Regions from separate parts of the Homo sapiens genome. Here region 1 is linked to region 2. The links are contacts of gene promoters, found by promoter capture Hi-C in blood cells and fetal thymus (Javierre and others, 2016). All regions are on one chromosome and are shown on one strand. The core of a region is centred on a gene start or on the middle of the fragment in contact, and the rest is flanking DNA. Distances in the headings are between cores, read along the strand shown.

Evidence for each region. Contacts are between HindIII fragments. The CHiCAGO score rates a contact against its expected background, and 5 or more counts as called.
Region 1: a fragment that was not itself captured here is called in contact with the fragment with the promoter of SCG5-AS1 in region 2 in 7 of 17 cell types (M2 macrophages, endothelial precursors, M1 macrophages and 4 more); the score reaches 21.5 in M2 macrophages.

What each region holds. Positions count from the first base shown.
Region 1 is chr15:32,942,931-32,946,058 of GRCh38, reverse strand. All of the region lies in intron 9 of FMN1 (formin 1), which reads left to right. Among named protein-coding and RNA genes, the nearest start is that of GREM1-AS1, 230 kb to the right of the region's middle. The HindIII fragment of the contact is 467 bases long and covers 1,103-1,569 here.
Region 2 is chr15:32,671,646-32,674,755 of GRCh38, reverse strand. It overlaps SCG5-AS1 (SCG5 antisense RNA 1), which reads left to right and starts at 1,691. Exons shown (of 4, transcript NR_135505.1): 1 at 1,691-1,766. The region is part of intron 10 of ARHGAP11A-SCG5 (ARHGAP11A-SCG5 readthrough); the gene reads right to left. All of the region lies in intron 2 of SCG5 (secretogranin V), which reads right to left. The HindIII fragment of the contact is 5,358 bases long and covers 1-3,110 here.

The sequences.
Region 1 (3,128 bases), core at 87-2,586, 270 kb before region 2:
TTTATATTCATGGAAGGAACTCAGTGAACCTGTTGGAAGCAATATGGCACTTACATATCAGCAGCTGTTAGCCAGAAAATTAACAGAGTGGAGTGACTTGGGTTGTAAGTAGTGTACATTATGGCAATGGCGGCAAATGAAGACTATGCGAGAAGTTGTCTGCAAAAGGAAAATGTGAGGTGCCCTAAGTATCTTTAAAGGAAGAAGTGTTTCCCTTGGAGTTCTGTCTCAGATTTTGCCTTCCAGTGGCTTGAGGCACTGCAGCTAGGGGTGCTCACTCTTGCTGGCTCTTCACCTCTACACAGGAGTGGGAAAGAGCCAGGTAATTTGCATCGTGGATACCCTCTAAATCAAAGGCCATCCATCATTTCTGATATCTTGAATGCAATGATTATCATATCAAAGACATATGATGACATTGAAGATAATAACTTTTCTGTTGCCCATTATCTCTAACCAGCTTGGCGTAATTATTAGCATGTGTTCTTTCCAAAAGCCTAACACTCTAACATGTTGGAAAGAAAAAGCCCTATTTAAGCCACCAAAGATATACGTGTGTGAGACTGGGTTGAAGTTTTTATTATTAGATGAGAAATTATATAGACAAGACAGGAAGTCCAAAGGTCATGCAAACTTTGTTATTTAGAGGTTTTAGGAGGGCACTATGGCTGTCTGTATACTTGGGATTGGCTTTCTATGAGAAAGTTACTTCCAATACTTCCTAAATGAGTACAATAGCTTTAGTAAAGGACTCCGTGGAGATTGATATTCTGAAAGGGGCTCATGGGAAAAACCTCTGGAAATCAGGGATTATAGAAACATACATATATCTATGTATTGGCACCGTGCTAAGTGCCAATGATCAGTAACAAAATAATACATTTATTTAGAGTCACTTCACCCCTCAAAATGTCCATGGACCAGCAGCAACATAATCACCTAGAAGATTATTAGAAATATAAAAATATCAGCCCCTGTATTAGTTTCCTAGGGCTAATTTAACAAACTGTCACCAACTGTTGACTTGAAACAACAAAAATTTATTGTCTCATAATTCTAGAGTCTAGAAGTCTAAAATCAAAGCTGTTCGCAGGGCCAAGCTTTGGTAGCTCTGGTTCTGTCTGAAGGCAGTGAATGCACTGATGTCTCTTGGTCTTTTCTTCCCGCAAGACTCCATGATCAATAGGAAAAAGCATGTGATTTTGTTTGGGGGTTTGTCTTCTACATTACACAAAATCAGAAATCTGCCCACAGCCCTACCCTCCCCCCTCCAACCCATCACACCCCCACACTGTCATAGCCTTCACCTGCTGTGGCCTCCGCATTAGCCTTCTGAGTGGAATTCATCAGCCTGAAAAACAAGAAAAGGGTTTTTCTGTCTCGTCAGGATGGGGATGGGGTGCCAAATACGTTCTCAGACTCAAGACAGGGTGACAATTTGCCTTTTCACATTTCTTGGTGAAGAGCCTAGATCCTTAAAGTAAACTTCATCCAAGCAATTTTATGTGTCCCCAAAAATAAGGCCATGGAAGAGATTCAGACCTAACAGTTTGACTAAACAGTGAAGCTTAGTTTTCCTTGAAACATTTAATGAGACAGATTATCAGCTGTATGTGGAAAGCTTATTTTAATGTCATTATCAGGCCAGTTGACAGAGGCTTCTTCCCAGAGGCCTACCAGGCCATACTGGCCATTAGCAGCAAGAGCTGTTTTGCACCACGTCGGATGACATTGCATAATATGGCACTACACAGCCAGCCAACCAGCTCTTCTGGGTGTGATGGCAGAGTGGCAGGGGATGGAGCAGGGAAGAAGAAGGGGACCAAGGAAACTGAATCAGCATTGTACTCCTGGGCACCTGCCAAGTAACAATTGCATATTTCCAAAGAAGCGGTTATTCTCCCGTAAGAGAGAAAGCAAGATGGCTGTGGTCCTGCCCTTCCCCTTCCCCAGGCACTCCCTTCTGGCACTGGCTGGGAGGAATCATTGCTTACCTGTCCCATTTGTAGTCACTGCCATATTAGAAATCGTAGGGAGGGGACTAGAATAGCCACAGCTATAAAAGGATTCTGCCAGTTGGTTCCCCCATGATTTTTTTCTGTGCATAAGGCCTGTATCCATAGGCTACCATACCTCATTGCCTTGCATCGTTTTGCATCACTTCTTGGAATTTCTTTCCATTGCGAAACTCTCACTCTGTTTTCCCAATTAGATGTCTATTACTTAGAAGATTTTTTGATTTGGATGGCAGTTAAATGAGAATAAAAATTAAACCTAAGGCCTTCTTAATATTCTCTCTCATCTCACAAAGATACTGCTCTCTAATGCAGCTAAAGTTTAGACCCTATACTAATTTATAATTTGGAGGTATTCAAACTAAAGTATCAGTGCAATCATCAGAGCCTGTAGCCCTTGAATAAGTGAAACAATTTCTGCATCTCTAACATAGGATTCTACGTGTCTTCCAACCCACTCCACAAGAATGTCTTAAAGAGAAACATAACAGTCATTATGAAGGTACCTTTATCTATTTGGAAGCCCATGACTTAGAAGTGGGATGACTGTTACTAAGACAAGCTGACTTGTCATCAGTAGCATATCTACTTTTTACCAACCAGCCTCTTAATGTCCATAGTTTGGCCAGGTGGTGGAATTCAGCGAGTATTGATGTGAAGCATAAGCAAGAGATAACACTAGTTTGATGGCACAAAAATAGAAGTTGTATTTTTTAGAATTGTACTTGGGAGAATCAGATTGTCTAATTTATGTGAATTCTCCACGCTGTTGTTCAATCTTACCAAGAAAGGCCAGATCATTTACACACTTGTTCTATATAGCTGACCGTGTACCCTATGTGGATATTTGGTATACAGGTCGAGTATCCCTTATCTGAAATGGTTGAGACCAGAAACGTTTCAGATTTCAAATTTTCCAGTTGAGCATTCCAAATCTGAAAATCCAAGACCTGAAATACCCCACTGAGCATTTTCCTTGAGCACTGTACCAGCGCTGAAAAAGTTCTGGATTTTGAAATACTTCGTATTTTGGAGTTCTTGAGTTTTGAATTTGGGATGCTCGACCTGTATATCATTGTCATGAAAGTAAATGTCTACTCATATATATATGGT
Region 2 (3,110 bases), core at 442-2,941:
GTTGACCTGGTTGGTTTGAGTCTCTCCCTGGCCTTGGAGACCTGATCAACCTCAGCTCCAAGTTTTGCCACTCATGGTCTTGTTCGGTGTTAACAAAGCCCCCAACAGCACTCCCAAGGACAACCTCTAACAACTCCAATGATCGCTTGTCCAGAAGAGGGCACTAACTTTTCTGGTTACTTAAAAACTCCCTTGGGTTTCAAATCCATTTTCCTGTCTCTATGATTTTGAAGATCAGTTGTTAGTACCTAGTAAACAGAAATATGAAAATTAAATACCTTCTGACCCCCAAAGTTTTACTTGGCTCTGAACAGCCATGGCCTTTTTGTTGCACTGGTAGGGTTTTTTTCATTGTTTAATTTTAGAGTAAATCTCTGTTATCATATTTTATCTTGATATAATTTGACTCTCTAAAATGTGCATAAAAAACAAAATCCGAATTAACAGAGGTTTCCGATTATAGTACCATCTCACTTATCTCTTTAGAGAGAACGTGCTGTTTCATGTAGTATTCAGATCACTGAAGCATCGGTTTAAGATCAAGATTTATTTAACCATTTTAAAGGAGAATTTTCCACTATGAACATTAGGTAAATACTTTAAACAGCAGGAGAATATGACTTTGCCTGTTCTTGATAATTTGGGACTATTACTGGGAATATCAATGACTATACAGTGTTGTAACAGTGTATTCTCAGAGTATTAAAGGGCATTCGGATATAAAACTATATTAAATGGGCCGGGTGCGGTGGCTCACACCTATAATGCCAGCACTTTGGGAGGCAGAGGCGGGTGGATCACAAGGTTAGGAGTTCAAGACCAGCCTGGCCAAGATGGTGAAACCCCATTTCTACTAAAAATACAATTACAGGCAGGCGCCTGTAATCCCAACTACTCAGGAGGCTGAGGCAGGAGAATCACTTGAACTTGGGGAGTAGAGGTTGCAGTGAACCGAGATCATGCCACTGCACTCCAGCCTGGGCGGCAAAGTGAGACTCCGTCTCAAAACAAACAAACAAACAAACCTATATTAAATGGTCCCAGATGCAATAGTTTTTAATGTTCTTTGTCACCTCACTCCTTCTAAGTTATTAATTCTAGTCATCCCAAATCCTTTCCATAATGAAATACAATAAATTGAGAGTGCGCCTAGGCCCTGCAAGTCTCTTCTAATTTTACCCTCCCCCGCACAACACACACACACACACACACACACACACACACACACGGGGATCTTATCCAAATGTGGATTCTGATTCAAGGTGAAGGGTGGGGCCTGAGATTCTGCATTCCTCACAAGCTCCCAGATAGTGCAGATGCTGCTGGTCCATGAGCCACATTTTCAGTAATAAGGGGCTAGAAAATGAGAGAGCCAGGCTTATTAAAATTATATATAAAATGAGATAAAATTAGCTCCGAGAGAGTGCCTAGGTGATCTTGCTTTATGGAATTTGTGACATCGGTGTGGCTGCTAAGAACCTTCTTAAAAGTCTGCAGTTTCAGATAAAGGAGCTGTCACTGCCGTTGTAGTCCTTTTACTTAAAGTTTTACTCTACAGAGGCACTTGCTCACACTTTGCAAGGAAAGGATCCTGCTGCCCCATTTTTTACTTACGCTAGTTCTGTGGGAATTAGAGGTAAACACCTCCCTTGAACGTGAGTTCTCATAGTATAAGCGATGTCCGTTGGAGAGCCTGATGATGTCCCACCACGATGCAACGGCTCTCCTGGCTGGGGCTAGTGGAAGCAGTTTTGATGGAAGTTAAGGTTGGTCAGAAATTAAGAACATAAATGGGACCTGCGTTACTTCGTCACTCTGTCTCTTTTTTTTTTTTTTTTTTTTGTGATGTTATGGTTTCAACAGTTTCAAAGTGCTTTCATCCTTATTAAAAACGTCCTAGTGAGGTCAGTAGGACAAGAATCACTATTCATCATTCTAAGTGAGAAAGTGAGACCTGGGGAAAGGTTTCTTGCCTAAAGCCACTCAGCAAGTTGGTGCTATTTTGGATTCCAGCCCTGTGTTCACTCTACAGTGGCACTGAGAGAGCCCCCACGAGGCCTTCTGCGTCCATTCATACCCTTTCCAGTGCGTTTCCGTCTTCCAAAGATGAGCTGGAGCTCCACAGCCACAGTTAGTAGAATGACCTGTCGGGGTACCTGGGGTCTCTCATAGTTTCCAGGTCACTCAGGGGATCTCCGGTGTCAGTGACTACTGCAGAGCCAGGCCCCGGCAAAATGGCTCTGGGATGGGACGCCACCTGTGGGCCTCGCCACCATGGTTCCTTCGCACCTGAGTGCCCACCTCACGCTGGAGGTTTGGAACATCCGGACAACCCCTGCCCTCCAGACTCTGCCACACAACTTGGGAACACCCTGACAAGCCCGCAGCCAGCATCGTCCCATTCGCACCCCTCACGCTGCCTGCAGCCCTGGGGATTCATGCAATTGGGCACTGGCGCTGGGCAATAAAGAATTGTGGTGGGGCAGCCTGGTGCCAGGGAGCCAGTCGCCCACCTCGTAAAAAGGGAGTTCTGTGAGGAGCGTCTGGCAGGGAGCGGGCACAGGCCCCTGAATACCAGCCATTCAGCTGAAGGGAACGGGTCCAGCAGTTTTCACTTATGTTACCACAAACAGCAGATGCTAAAAATACACTGCGGTCTCGATACATCATTCAGAAAGCGACGGACCAGTTTTCCTTTTGTCAGCGGTCTGGGAGCCTGAAGCAGTCGGATGGGGCATTCCAGACACCGCCTGGCCTCCTTTGGTTTCCCCTCAGACTCTGACAGAGCTGAAGGTGCCAGCGCGAGAGCGCCCGAGGAGACCAGGAGAGAAGGTGGAGAGGCGGCAAGGCTCCCCAGGCTAAGGGAAGGCAAAGCGGAGTGGGGCGAGGAAGGGGCGGGGTGGCTCCTTCTGGAGGCCACAGAACAGCCTGGGACTCCCTGAGGCGACACCGGCCGCAGGCACCAGGCACTGGGGGCTAAGAGAAACCCCGAGACCCAGAAATCTCCTTCCTAAGGTCCAACTTGCCCCAAAAGTTGTTTTTTCTTTTTTTTTTTTCACTACTTGAGGTAAACACATACACAATTTTACAAAAAGCGCCATCACTTGTCC